Regions from separate parts of the Homo sapiens genome. Here region 2 is linked to region 1. Evidence: promoter capture Hi-C in 16 types of primary human blood cells and fetal thymus (Javierre and others, 2016). All regions are on one chromosome and are shown on one strand. Each heading gives the region's core, a stretch centred on a gene start or on the middle of the fragment in contact. The rest is flanking DNA. Distances are from core to core; before and after follow the strand shown.

Region 1 (7,196 bases), core at 2,837-5,336:
CTTAGTCTAGGGATGTCATGCACTAGGAAACAAGTAATAGATTTCTTGTAAGGCTTGGTGGGGAAGACTTAACAATTCTGTGTCTGTGACCATTCTGCAGAACACACTGCTGCTCCTGAGGTAAAGAGCCTTAAGATTCTGGAGACTATGAAATGCTCATTCATCCAACCAGCATAGATCGTGCTCACAGTGTGCAAGGCATTGGTAGCAATGCATGTGGCAAAGTTTCACTCTCATGCAACCTACATTCTTATAAATGGGGTAGCCATAAAATAAACAAATAAGTATAGAAACAAACAAGAGGCTGGGCGTGGTGGCTCACGCCGGTAATCCCAGCACTTTGGGAGGCCGAGGTGGGCAGATCACGAGGTCAGAATATTGAGGCCATCCTGGCTAACAAGGTAAAAGCCCATCTCTAGTAAAAATACAAAAAATTATCTGGGTGTGGTGGCATGCACCTGTAATCCCAGCTACTCAGGAGGCTGAGGCAGGAGAATCGCTTGAACCCAGGAGGTGGAGGTTGCAGTGAGCGGATACGGCGCCACTGCACTCCAGCCTGGGGGACAGAGTGAGATTCCGTCTCAAAAAAAAAAAAAAAAAAAGGAAACAAGATACACTGGAAGTTCTCTAACCTTCAGTCAGTATGTTCCACACAGGGAATGAAGAACTTAGGCTATTCTTCTGTTTCCATCTATATATCTAACAAGAATTAAATTATTCTCAGAACTGATTATGCCAGTTGTAATTACATAGTTCATATAAATATCATGGAAGCCAATAAAATATGAGTTGTTTCTTGGAATGCTGAATTTAATGCTTTGTAAGGACTTCATTAAAAATTACTTAAAAATTATAAAACAGGCCGGGTGCAGTGTGTAATCAAGCCTGTAATCTCAGCACTTTGGGAGGCTGAGGAGGGTGGATCACTTGAGGTCAGGAGTTCAAGACCAGCCTGACCAACATGGTGAAACCCCGTCTCTACTAAAACTACAAAACATTAGCCAGGCATGGTGGTGCACAGCTGTAATCCCAGCTACTCAGGAGGCTGAGACACGAGAATCTCTTGAACCTGGGAGGCGGAAGTTGCAGTAAGCCGAGATCCCACCACTGCACTCCAGCCTGGGCAACAAAGTGAGACTCTGTCTCAAAAAAAAAAAAAAGTATTTTTAAAAGGTTCTCAGCCGGGTATGGTGGCTCACGCCTGTAATCCCAGCATTTTGGGAGGCCAAGGCAGGTGGATCACCTGAGGTCAGGAGTTTGAGACCAGCCTGGCCAACATGGTGAAACCCTGACTCTACTAAAAATACAAAAAAAAAAAAATTAGCCAGGTGTGGTGGCGGGCACCTGTAGTCCCAGCTACTCGGGAGGCTAAGGCAGGAGGACCACTTGAACCCAGGAGGTGGAGGTTGCAGTGAGCTGAGATTGTACCACTGCACTCCAGCCTGGGTAACAGAGTGAGACTCTGTCTCAAAATAAATAAATAAAATAAAATAACAAATTCTCACTCCAGTTTAAAGAAACTGAATTGCTGATTAAAGGTTATGGTTAATGTATGGATGCCAGTCAGCAGATCCATGCTAGTAATAATAATAATAATGGCTTTAGCTCTATATTATTTAAACATTGTTATAACAAAAAGATTAAGATTTCTCTATATCAAATATGTATATATAATATCTTCATATTTAATACGTTAGGAGGCTCAAAGATAGAGGTAGCCAGACCTCTTGACTTTTTTTTTTTTTTTTTTTGAGCTGGAGTCTTGCTCTGTCACCCAGGCTGGAGTTCAGTGGCACGATCTCTGGTCACTGCAAGCTCTGCCTCCCGGGTTCACACCATTCTCCTGCCTCAGCCTCCCAAGTAGCTGGGACTACAGGCACCCACCACCATGCCCTAATAATTTTTTGTATTTTTAGTAGAGATGGAGTTTCACCGTGTTAGCCAGGATGGTCTCGATCTCTTGACCTCATGATCCGCCCGCCTCGGCCTCCTAAAGTGCTGAGATTACAGGCGTGAGCCACCGCGCCCAGCCGACTCTTGTAACTCCTCAAATCACCCCATCTCTTGACCTGACCCCGAGATAAGCCTCCTTATTTCCACACTCTAGACTTTCTTACGTGCTTATAAGATAGAGATGTTGACTTCCTGCACGTTTCCCATTCCTTCGTTTCATGCCTTTCACGTACATCATAGCCGTAATGTTTCTATTTCTGGATTATAACAAAGGTGTTAAGTTGGTTTTCTTTGGTCTTCTCCCCTGTGTTTCTCTGCCATCTCTCGTTTCTTGTTTCTGCCCTGCCCGGCTGTGTGTCTTGTGCATTACGGTTATCCTACTCATCTTTCACCTGATTTAAAAAACTCATTCAGTCTAGGACTTAGAGTGTAAGTGTGTTCAAATAGTGTTAGGTTCACATAATGTCTAAAACTTTTAGTAGGAAAAATGCTACCTTGCCAATTTGTCTGTGTCTGAAAGGAATTTGCATTTAAAAATTTGGCAATTTGACAGAGGCAAATTTAAAATTTGAAAATATTTTCTTAAATATAGACTCATTTACAGATAGAAGGCAAGGGCAGGAAGTGATGGTGACCAGCGGTGCCTGAATGAACTCAGGAATGTAACTGTAGATCTAGGGTCCCAAACTTTAGGTTTCAAAGGATCTCTTGGAGTACTTGCTGAAAAATGTAGGTTCCTAAGTCCACTGCCAGAAACTCTGACTCAGTGGGTCAAGAATGGAATAACTAAACAATGGCCCCATGCAGTGGTTCATGCCTGTAATCCCAGCACGTTGGGAGGTTGAAGCAAGAGGATCACTTGAGGTCAGGAGTTCGAGACCAGCCTGGCCTACATGGTAAAACCCCATCTCTACTAAAAATACAAAAAAATTAGCTGGGCATGGTGGCATGCACCTGTAATCCCAGCTACTTGGGAGGCTGAGGCAGGAGAATTGCTTGAATCTGGGAGGTGGAGGTTGTAGTGGGCCGAGATTGTGCCATTGCACCACTGCACTCCAGCCTGGGCGATAAAGTGAGATTCTGTCAAAAAAATAAATAAATACATGAAAGAGAGAAAGAAAGAAAGAAAGAAAGAAAGAAAGAAAGAAAGAAAGAAAGAAAGAAAGAAGGAAAGAAGGAAAGAATAGAAAAGAAAAGAAAGAAAGAAAGAAAGGAAGAAAAGGAAAGAAAGAAATGCTGAATAAGATATAGAGACAACATACAGCTGGGCCAGCTTATGACATCTGATAGTGGGGAGATTTGGGGCTGGGTCCTGAATCTGAGGGTAATTAACTCCCTGTAACTTCTTTTCCTAATCTGTAAAAGGATAGTGACAGCGAGACATTGTGATGGGGTTAATATTTTGGAAAACATCCACATGTTTTTTTCCTTTGCCTTTCTGAGTGTGTCAACTACTTCCTACCTGTCCAGCCTAACACACAGGCATGTTGTCTTGGTAGGGATGGAGATCTGAGAAGGAGATTAGAATTTGTGTCTGAAGGTTTGCAAAGAGGAAGAAGTCGTCAATATTTAGATTCTGACATTCAAGATGGAATTATGTAGCAAGACCATTGCTATGAGACAGTATTTCTATTTTCCTTTATCCACTCCCACCCTGCCCTCTTCCCACCCTCACAGTAGCATGAGAAAAACCACATATGGAAGTTTCAGGTCATAAAAATTATCTTATAATTTAGAAAACAGGCCTTGTGCCTATGACAGCCAGGCCATGAGGCTTAGAGCTCTGTGGTAGAATGAGGATATGTTAGGGAAAAGCAAAGAAAATCCCTCCCCTCTTTGGCTGAGGACATTATCAAAAGGAGAGCAAGAAAGAGAAGAGAGAAATGGGCTTGAGGTGAGTGCAGATAAGGGGTGCATGGATCCTGAGGGCAAGGAGAGGAGCTTCTTTCAGTTTCCCTCCTTTCCAACGACTACTTTGAGACAAGAGCTGTCCCTGGGCAGTAGGAAAGGGGAGGGACAGTTGCAGGTTCAATAGATGTGGGTGGGGCCAAGGCCACAGAACCCAGAAAAACAACTCATTCGCTTTCATTTCCTCACTGACTATAAAAGAATAGAGAAGGAAGGGCTTCAGTGACCGGCTGCCTGGCTGACTTACAGCAGTCAGACTCTGACAGGATCATGGCTATGATGGAGGTCCAGGGGGGACCCAGCCTGGGACAGACCTGCGTGCTGATCGTGATCTTCACAGTGCTCCTGCAGTCTCTCTGTGTGGCTGTAACTTACGTGTACTTTACCAACGAGCTGAAGCAGGTCAGTGCAGTGCAGTGCACTCAGTCTTCGAGGCGCTTAGCAAATGTCTGGTTACCTGCTTCTTTGCATGTCAGCTTGCCCCTCTCTGAAGACTTTCCTGCTTCCTTTCTCTGTGGGTACACTCTAACTGCTAAATCACATAACAACTGAGGTCTTTGCAAAACTGTAAGTTCAAGAAATTGTGTAAACTAAGTGCAGTTACACAACTGGCTTCACTAGTTACTAGCAGATGTGGGCAACAAAACTCCTGAGGGATTTTTTGTTTTTAAAAGTATGTGTATTTTATAATATCAGCCATTGCAACTCTTCATGAAAGCTTTCTGCTAAATGCTTTGTAGTTCTTTTGTTTTCCTTTTCCAAACTTTTATTTGTGCACATTCAATTGAAAAAGATAATTTTTACAGGTTCTTTGGTGCCCATTTTCAGCATACAAAAATGTAAAAGACTATTCACAGATAAAACACATTAGCTCAAAATGGAAAAAAATAACAATGACAACAATAAAACAACCTAAGGTAGTGCACACTGTGACAGCTCTGCTTATGGGGACATGAGAATTCCTGCGAAAATAAATAGAATGTCCTTTTGTAAAAGCAGCAATGACATGTCTTGTAAACTTCCTTTTTTATATTATAACAAGGTTTGGAATAAAATCCAAAGGGACTGGAGCTTACACTGTAGCCATGAATAAATAAAAGAGTCTATTTCCTCAATTACCGTTGGTTCAGTTTTCCTTTTGAGTCCAATGTGCAGCAGGTTTTAAAAGGTGCACAGTAAGAGATTCTAACCAATTAAGTGGTGAATGATAAAATTTCTTTCCTGCTTTCAAACACAAATGGGTAAATCTGTTCCACAGCAGTAGCAACAGCCTTTAAATAGGGCCTTGTTACTGTGATACTTCCTGTCGAAAAAATCTGTAATGTAGCTCTTAGAGTCTTTATCCAATAGCACACAGCAGGATGAAGTTCAGATTCATAACTCACATGAGGTCTATTGCTCTTTGTGAATTCTGGCAAACAGATTTCTTTATTTTTAAATTTTTTTATTTTACTTTAAGTTCTGGGATACGTGTACAGAACGTGCAGGTTTGTTACATAGGTATACATGTGCCATGGTGGTTTGCTGCACCCATCAACCCATCATCTAGGTTGTAAGCCCCACAGGCATTAGGATTTGTTCTAATGCTCTCCCTCCCCTAGCCTCCCACCCCCGACAGGCCCCAGTGTGTGTGTTGCCCTCCCTGTGTCCATGTGCTCTCACTGTTCAACTCCCACTTATGAGTGAGAACATGCAGTGTTTGGTTTTCTGTTCCTGTGTTAGTTTGCTGAGAATGATGGCTTCCAGCTTCATCCATGTCTCTGCAAAGGACATGAATTCATTCTTTTTAATGGCTGCATAGTATTCCATGGTGTATATGTGCCACATTTTCTTTATCCAGTCTATCACTGATGAGCATTTGGGTTGGTTCCAAGTCTTTGCTATTGTAAATGGTGCTGGAATAAACATATGTGTGCATGTGTCTTTATAGTAGAATGATTTATAATCCTTTGGGTATATACCCAGTAATGGGATTGCTGAGTCAAATGGTATTTCTGGTTCCTTGAGGAATTGCCACACTGTCTTCCACACTGGTTGAACTAATTTATACTCCCACCAACAGTGTAAAAGCATTCCTATTTCTCCACATCCTTCCAGCATCTGTTGTTTCCTGACTTTTTAATGACCACCATTCTAACTGGAGTGAGATGGTATCTCATTATGGTTTTGATTTGCATTTCTCTAATGACCAGTGATGATGAGCTTTTTTTCATGTTTGTTGGCCACATAAATGTCTTCTTTTGAGAAGTATCTGTTCATATCTTTTGCCCACTTTTTGATGTGGTTTTTTTCTTGTCAATTTGTTTTACAAGAAACAAATTCCTTGTAGATTCTGCATATTAGACCTTTGTCAGATGGGTAGATTGCAAAAATTTTCTCCCATTCTGTAGGTTCCCTGTTCACTCTGATGATAGTTTCTTCTGCTGTGCAGAAGCTCTTTAGTTTAATTAGATCCCATTTGTCAATTTTGACTTTTGTTGCAATTGCTTTTGGTGTTTTAGTCATGAAGTCTTTGCCCATGCCATCTTGAATGGTATGCCTAGGTTTTCTTCTGGGGTTTTTATGCTTTTAGGTTTTACGTTTAAGTCTTTAATCCATCTTGAGTTAATTTTTGTAGAAGCTGTAAGGAAGGGGCCCAGTTTCTGTTTTCTGCATATGGCTAGCCAGTTTTCCCAGCACCATTTATTAAATAGGGAATCCTTTCCCCATTGCTTGTTTTTGTCAGGTTTGTCAAAGATCAGGTGGTTGTAGATGTGTAGTGTTATTTCTGAGGCCTCTGTTCTGTTCCATTGGTCTATGTATCTGTTTCCATACCAGTAACATGCTGTTTTGGTAACTGTAGCCATCTTCCCTGCTTTGTTGTTGCAGGTTGGAGTTACAGTTCTTGACTCATGAATTCTTGAGGGTGAGGGTAGCTGTATCAGAGCTGTGTCTGCTTCTGCTCATTAGTATACCTCTGGGTCTAGCATGTGGTTCCCAAGTAGCCACTAATACTAATACTTGTGGTTCACTACATACTTATTGAGTGAATGAACAGCCTTCACAGATGTGGTAGGCACCACGAATATGCAGGCGACAAGGGTAGAGTCAGGCTCAACCCAAAGCCAGGCCCTAAGTCACTGAACACTCCCGTTTTGTATTCCAGATGTAGCTAGTCCTGGTGAACTTTCACATCTTTGAAATGTTTTGCTTTTAGTTATGTGGCATTCCTGTGTTGACAATAAGTGAGAATACAAAGGACTGGCATTCTGCCTATTCCTGGGGCACGGGCATGTCATGGGTAAAATCTGTAATAAAGAAGTTATCAGATAGACACAGCTGTTCATGATAAAACA
Region 2 (7,379 bases), core at 1,576-4,075, 220 kb before region 1:
GAACTCATTCATTACTCCCAGAACAGCACCAAGCCATTCATGGGAGATCTCCTCCATAACTCAAACACCTCCCATTAGTGCCACCTCTAACACTGGAGATCAATTCAACATGAGGTTTGGCGTGTCAAATATCCAAAGTATAACAGGGGGTAATATTCAAGGAATGTGGCTTAAAATAACGTGAGCTAATGTTTCACTCTTAAATCCCCATAGCTTAATTGCTGAAACCTGATTTCTTCCAAGTCAGTTTTCCAAGATTGCTTATGCAAATTGCCTCAAAGTAGCTACCAACACTGTTTACTTCTCTCTGTGCAGACATGAACTGAAGAGCTTCCCACTCCTAGTCTCTTAGCCTGAACAGCTCCCCAATACTTCTTCGTTTCCCTGGTTTTTTGTCTTAGCCAGCCCCTTCTGCAGTGCAACTACCAGGTACAGACACTTTGACTCACACGCTGTCATTCCCAAGTGGGCCTCTTCTCCTTGGGCCACCATCACTTTGCAGAGATTTCACACCTTGGGGTCCCCGAACACTTCTCTACAATAGGCTTCCCCTGTCTGCTTGAGAGGCTCTATAGCTTTAGAATAGGGAACCCGACTCCCTGGGTTTCGACCCGGCTTTTCCATTTCCTAGCCATGTGACCTTAAGCAAGTTATTTTACATCCCTATACCTCAGTTTGGTCTTCTGTAAAAGGATATGATAGTACTTATCTCAAAGTATTGTTATGAGAATTGAAGGAATTAATATAGATAATTGAAACATTTTAGCACATAGTAAATATTCAATAGATGTTAGCTGTTAATAGTACCATTATTTCTGCTACTATTATGGTTGCTGCTACTCTTACTACTATGTTATCTCAGCTGACCTGTAATTGCCTGATGGAAATGGTGGCTCTCTATGCTGCCTTCCCACCCCTGACCGCAGGAGCAATGGCACCTGTGCTGCTGTTCCTCTCTCCCCACCCTACCCTATCCACAACACCTGCCCCCACAACACCAAGGCTGCCACAGGAAAGACCACCATCAAATTCTTTTTTTTTTTTTGAGATGGAGTCTCACTCTGTCACCCAGGCTGAAATGCAGTGGCAAGATCTCGGCTCACTGCAACCTCTGCCTCCCAGGTTCAAGCGATTCTCCTGCCTCAGCCTCCTGAGTAGCTGGGACTACAGGCACCTGCCACCACGCCCAGCTAATTTTTTTTTTTTTTTTTTTTTTTGTATTTTTAGTAGAGACGGGATTTCACCATGTTGGCAAGGGTGATTTCAAACAGCTGACCTTGTGATCCGCCCGCCTCGGCCTCCCAAAGTGCTGGGATAAGAGGCATGAGCCACCGCACCTGACCCACCATTGAATTCTTTTCTCACCAGGAGGCACAGTTCCTTCTTCTATACCAAATCTAATAGTCCTCTTTTTTTTTTTTTTTTTTTTGATTCAGACATTCTTACTAAACCCTCTTGTTTGTCAGGGAAACCTTGCTGCACCTAAGCTGTCTCCTCCTGTCTGGAAGATGTGGACTGCTTGCTGTGGCCCTTGGCCAGTCTTCTGTGCCCTTCCAACACAGATCCTAGCCAAGATTCCTTATGTTAAATGTTAGCCTCTCCTCCAGGTCCCTTCGCTGGAAGTATTATAATTATTGAATTCATATGTCAACGGGACAAAACCTGTTTAAAGCTTGTATAGGATATATACAATGAACTTGTCATTGTGATCACATTATAAATACATATATATCAACTATAGGCTGGGCGCGGTGGCTCACGCCTGTAATCCCAGCACTTTGGGAGGCCGAGGCGGGCGGGTCACGAGATCAGGAGATCGAGACCATCATGGCTAACACAGTGAAACCCCGTCTCTACTAAAAATACAAAAAAAAAAAATAGTCGGGCATGGTGGCACGCGCCTGTAGTCCCAGCTACTCGGGAGGCTGAGGCAGGAGAATGGCGTGAACCTGGGAGGCGGAGCTTGCAGTGAGCTGAGATCGCGCCACTGCACTCCAGCCTGGGTGACAAAGCGAGACTCTGTCTCAAAAAAAATATATATATATATATATATACATATATATATATATCTCAACTATAAAAAAATATGTAATCTACAATACCTAAGATGCTGAATGAACATGTTTTAGCCACAAAATAGTAAAGGAATTGAAGTACTTAGTATATTGAAGAATATGATGTATTTTCCCCCATGCAATACAATAATTTTTGATGTGGAGGATGGAACTTCTTGTGGAGGAGCAGCTTCCCCATCTGCATCTCCAACCGGATTCACTAACACTCTGGACCATCCTTCGGGATCCCCATCTCACCCTTGTTCCTCTTCCAGTTTACTCTTTCCTCTGTATTCATATTTCCTTTCCTCTCTCCCCTCTCCCCTCCATATCCATCTTTCTTTTTTTCATCTATACTCCCTCAGAGAAGCAGAGAATGGCCAGTTTAGGAAAGTTAGTATTTGTTATGGTGTATCTACTCCCCCCCACCAACCTCGTTCACAAATGTGAACACTGCCAGTACAATCATTCATCAAATCAGAGTAAAGCTTTCTCACACCCTTATAGTTTGTTCTAGTCTACTAATGAGAACTGGTATATTTGAAAAATTATTAATTTTCTTACCAAGATGATCTAGGCAACAATTATTGTGGTGGGCTTTGTTTTTATTACCTAAAGTTACAACAAAATATAATTTATAGATTTTACTTCCAAATATGAAATGTTATATAATCAAGCAGTAACACTGTTTTATGGTAAATTTAAATCTTTCATCATAGGATTAAATGTTTTACTTTACCTAAATATTAACATCGTAATGTCACCTAGACCTCATGTAATTGTTTCTCTCCTTGTATATTGCCATTCCTACCCTGCAACACATTCATTAAGTACATAGCTGTACATAATGCCACACTAGGTACCACTACAAAGATTCAGTCCCCCCCAAGAATTTATTATTAAAGATTATTATTTCAAAAGTTTTAGTGAATGATCATGGAGTTCTGTCCTTTTTTGGAATTATTAACATTTTCCAATTAAAATGTCATATTTCCAAGTTGGTTGTAATATGGCATCTTCTAACCTGTTATCTGTGCCTATAAAATAAGCTTTAGAAAGTATAATCACAGTGAGCCAGAAGAAGCTATTCTACACACTTCAATAGTCCGTAAATTAGTATAGGAATTGTTGCTTTATTCATCTGAACCATTAGGCTATAAATCACTTGACACATACTTGCAAGACTCTACAAATTTAGCACTTAAAGTTTCATTTGGAAGAATAGAATTAGCTTTCTATGAAGGAGCAAGAGGTTTCCAGATATGACAAAGCTATTATTTCAAATTATGTAATTGAATTAGTAAAATTTCAGATACGGGAGGGAAAAAAATCTCAGCTCCTTAGCCTCATTCTTCATTTAACAGATGAGTTTTACCAAGGCCAGCAACATAGAGGTTACACTCCTTTGCCGAGGTCAGGTAACTAGTTATTGACAAAACCAAGATCAAAAGTTTTATTTCCATTAGTCTAGTCTTCTTGCTATAGATATTTATATTTTATATTGTACATATAAAAGTACCGATATCTTTATTCATAATACATATATGTTTTGCCTTTGAAATAATTAAGATGCTTTCAGTTCTGTAAGAGCCTTTTTGGTCTTATTCACCAATGTATCTCCATATCTCCAGCACTTAGCAACACAGCACATTCCTGACAGATAGTAGTCTCAAAATTTGTTCCAAGAATAGCATTGTAACTGATGTCCAATAATTAATACTGCCTTCATCTGATCCATTCTCTAGCCTGCATTCAGAGTAACATTATGCAAGTCTAAACAGATTATGTCATCACCTCCTTAAAACACTTCAATCCTACTAGGCCTGCATGGTCTGACCTCTATCTGCTTCTCCAACGTCATCTTATACCATGTTTACTTCCTTTCTCTTAGGTCTAACTATACCTGCCTTCCTTCTAAGCATTTTTTGCACCTGCTCTTCTCTCTACCTATCCTTCTAATCCCCATTCCTTTAACCTAGAGTAGGCAACTACTACTCATCTTTTAGTGCATGCTCACTTCCAACTCCTTGAAAGGTCTTTTCTAACTACCCACCTTATCACAACCCTCACTCACACCCCCCAGCACCATGAGTATCTCTTTTGTGGTACTTGATGTAATTACTAGATTAATGTTTGTCTCTTTCACTATCTAAGCCACATGAAAGTAGGGACAATGTCTTTTTGTTAACTATTTTGTCCACAGTGCCTGACAGATACGAGGCACTCAGATATTGCTGAAATAACAAGGGAATGAATTAATATATAAATAAGTTTATTCTCCTTATAATATCAGTGGTGCTTTTTCCAAAGATAATAAAGTTTCAATTATTTTTACTTTTATCTAATCCATTATTTACGACAAATTTTCCTGTTGTTTCTTACTAGGTATGATGGATGAAGTGGCATATTTCCAAATTAATAAATTTACATCTTTAATTGACGTTTGAGTATATTATCTAAGAATGACATGATTTTTGTACCATAGCCAGCCCAGCTATGAATGGAAGAGGGTTAATGCTAATGCTACTCAACTAATTCAATTAAGACTTGCCACTGTTTATGAACATAGGCAATTATCCATATCAAAAATTCCATTTTCTTACAACCTATGCTTTCATAAATTATACATAAGTCTACATCTGTAAATGGCCTCTTCCACACCATCAAGTAACTTTCAAACATGTGAGGTATCCCAAAGTGTTAATTATGACAATAACTCCATCTTTGTAGAATAGTATTTTCTATGACAATAATTTGAATACCATGATTTACTTAGCAATAAAATTGTTACAGTTCAAATGAATTGAAAAATGGAGTTGCTAATGCAGTTGAAATAAAAATAGAACCTAGGCCATCAAAAAATGGTGGATATTTGACCTGGATTGTATGCCCACTTCAAAATACATGAAAGGCAAATTGATAGAATTAAATGGAGAAATAGATAATTTCACAATCATACCTGGAGATTTTAAGACCTTTTTTCTTTTCTTTTTCTTTTTCTTTTCCTTTTTTTTTTTTTTTTTGAGACGGAGTCTTGCTCTGTTGCCCAGGCTGGAGTGCAATGGTGTGAGCTCAGCTCACTGCAACTTCTGCCTCCCAGGTTCAAGCGATTCTCCTCCCTCAGCCTCCCGAGTAGCTGGGATTAGAGGCATGCACCATCAAACCTGGCTAATTTTTGTATTTTTAGTAGAGACAGGGTTTCACCATGTTGGCCAGGCTGGTCTCGAACTCCTGACCTCATGATCTACCCACCTCAGCCTCCCAAAGTGCTGGGATTACAGGAGTGAGCCACCACACCTGGCAGAACTGTTTTTCATTACCTGATAGAAAAGCTAAATAAAATCAGTAATGAGAAAGATAACCTGAACAACCTATTAACCACCCACCTAGCAATTGCAGAATATGTATTTTTTTCAGGGACATATAGTATGTGTCTTAAGGGTAAACCATACTCTGGACCATGAAAGATGTCTCAAATTTTAAAAACTGAAATCATACAGAGTCTGTTGTCTAACCACATTGAAACTAAATTAGAAATGAATAATAGATACCTAAGAAACCTCCAAATATTGAGAAATTGAACAACCCATTTATAAAAGCCATGGGTAAAAGAAGAAATCACTAGAAAACATATCTAGGTGAATAATAAAAAATAAAACATTAAAATTGAGGGGTACAGCTAAAGCAGTACTTAGAGGAACATTTTTTAGCTTCAAATGGTTATATGAAAATTTAAAAAGAAACAAATCTAGAATGAATAACCTAAGGTTCCACCTTAAGGAGATACGAAAACAATAGCAAAGAAAACCTAAAATGAATAACAGCAAGAAAAGGGAAGAAACCAATGGGACAGAAAAGAGACAAACAATGAGAAAATTAAGAAAACCAAAAGTTAGTCTTTGAAAAGATCAACAAAACTTATAATCCTCAAGTTAAATTGGTCAAGGAGCTCCCGCACAGTGACTCACACCCGTAGTCCTAGGTCATTGGGAGGCTGAGGTGGGAGAATTGCTCGAATCCAGGAGGTCGAAGCTGCAGTGAGCCATGTTCATGCCACTGCACTCCATCCTGAGTGACAAAAGAGAGACCATGATTCTTAAAAAAAAAAAAAAAAAAAAAAAAAAAATTTGTCAAGGAAAAAGAAGGAACAGAAATGAATAATATTAGCTGAAAAGTGGGGTTGTCACCACAGATTCTACAGAACTTTTTTTAAGAGACTAGGTCTCCCTCTGTTGCCCAGGCTAAAGTGTTATGGTGTACTTATAGCTCACTGTAGCCATGAACTCTGGGGCTCGAACAATCCTCCTGCCTCAGCCTCCTGAGTTGCTGGGACTACAGGGGCAACAATCTCTGTGTGTTTTTTTGTTTGTTTGTTTTTTGTTTTTTTCCGAGAATCTCCCTATGTTGCCCAGGCTGGAGTGCAGTGATGTGATCTCAGCTCACTACAACCTCCGCTTCCCAGGCTCAAGTGATTCTCCTGCCTCAGCCTCCCAAGTAGCTGGGATTACATGTACCCGCCACCATGCCCAGCTAATGTTTGTGTTTTTAGTAAAGACGGAGTTTCACTATGTTGGCCAGGTTGGTCTCAAACTCCTAACCTCAGATGACACGCCCACCTCAGCCTCCCAGTGTGCTGGGATTAGAAGCGTGACCCACCACACCCGGCCTAATTGTTTTACTTTTGAAGACATGGCATCTCCCTTTTTTTTTTTTTTTTTTTTTTTTTTTGAGACACAGTCTTGCTCTGTCTCCCAGGCTAGAGTGCAGTGGCACAATCTCGGCTCACTGCAAGCTCCGCCTCCCAGATTCAAGCGATTCTCCCTTCTCAGCCTCCCAAGTAGCTGGGACTACAGGTGCCCGCCACCATGCCTGGCTAATTTTTTGTATTTTTAGTAGAGACAGGGTTTCACCGTGTTAGCCAGGATGGTGTTAGCCAGGATGGTCTTGATCTCCTGACCTCGTGATCTGCCCGCCTCGGCCTCCCAAAGTGCTGGGATTACAGGCGTGAGCCACCGTGCCAAGGGCGTCTCGCTTTCTTGCCCGGGCTAGTCTCAAACTCCTGGGCCCAGTAGATCCTCTCACTGCAGCCTCTCAAAGTGCTGGGAATACAGGTGTGAGCCACTGTGCACGGCCCAGATTCCACAGATATTAAAAAGATAATAAGAGTGTTATGCCAACAAATTGTCAACTTAGATAAAGTGAACACTCTTTGAAAGATATACCAAAAAGTTTCACAAAAATAAACAGAAAAACCGAATAGCTCTATACCTATTATTAAAATGGAGTTAATTAACCTCACACACACACAAAAAAAAACAGATTTAA

Evidence for each region. Contacts are between HindIII fragments. The CHiCAGO score rates a contact against its expected background, and 5 or more counts as called.
Region 2: a contact is called between a fragment that was not itself captured here and the fragment with the promoter of TNFSF10 in region 1, in 2 of 17 cell types (total B cells and naive B cells). The highest score is 5.2, in total B cells.

The regions. Positions count from the first base shown.
Region 1 is chr3:172,520,320-172,527,515 of GRCh38, reverse strand. It overlaps TNFSF10 (TNF superfamily member 10), which reads left to right and starts at 4,086. Exons shown (of 5, transcript NM_003810.4): 1 at 4,086-4,263. The coding sequence starts at 4,132. It also overlaps the pseudogene TBPL1P1. RefSeq lists an enhancer at 4,105-4,154. The HindIII fragment of the contact is 8,260 bases long and covers 1-4,581 here.
Region 2 is chr3:172,736,152-172,743,530 of GRCh38, reverse strand. No RefSeq gene overlaps it. Among named protein-coding and RNA genes, the nearest start is that of ECT2, 11 kb to the left of the region's middle. The HindIII fragment of the contact is 561 bases long and covers 2,545-3,105 here.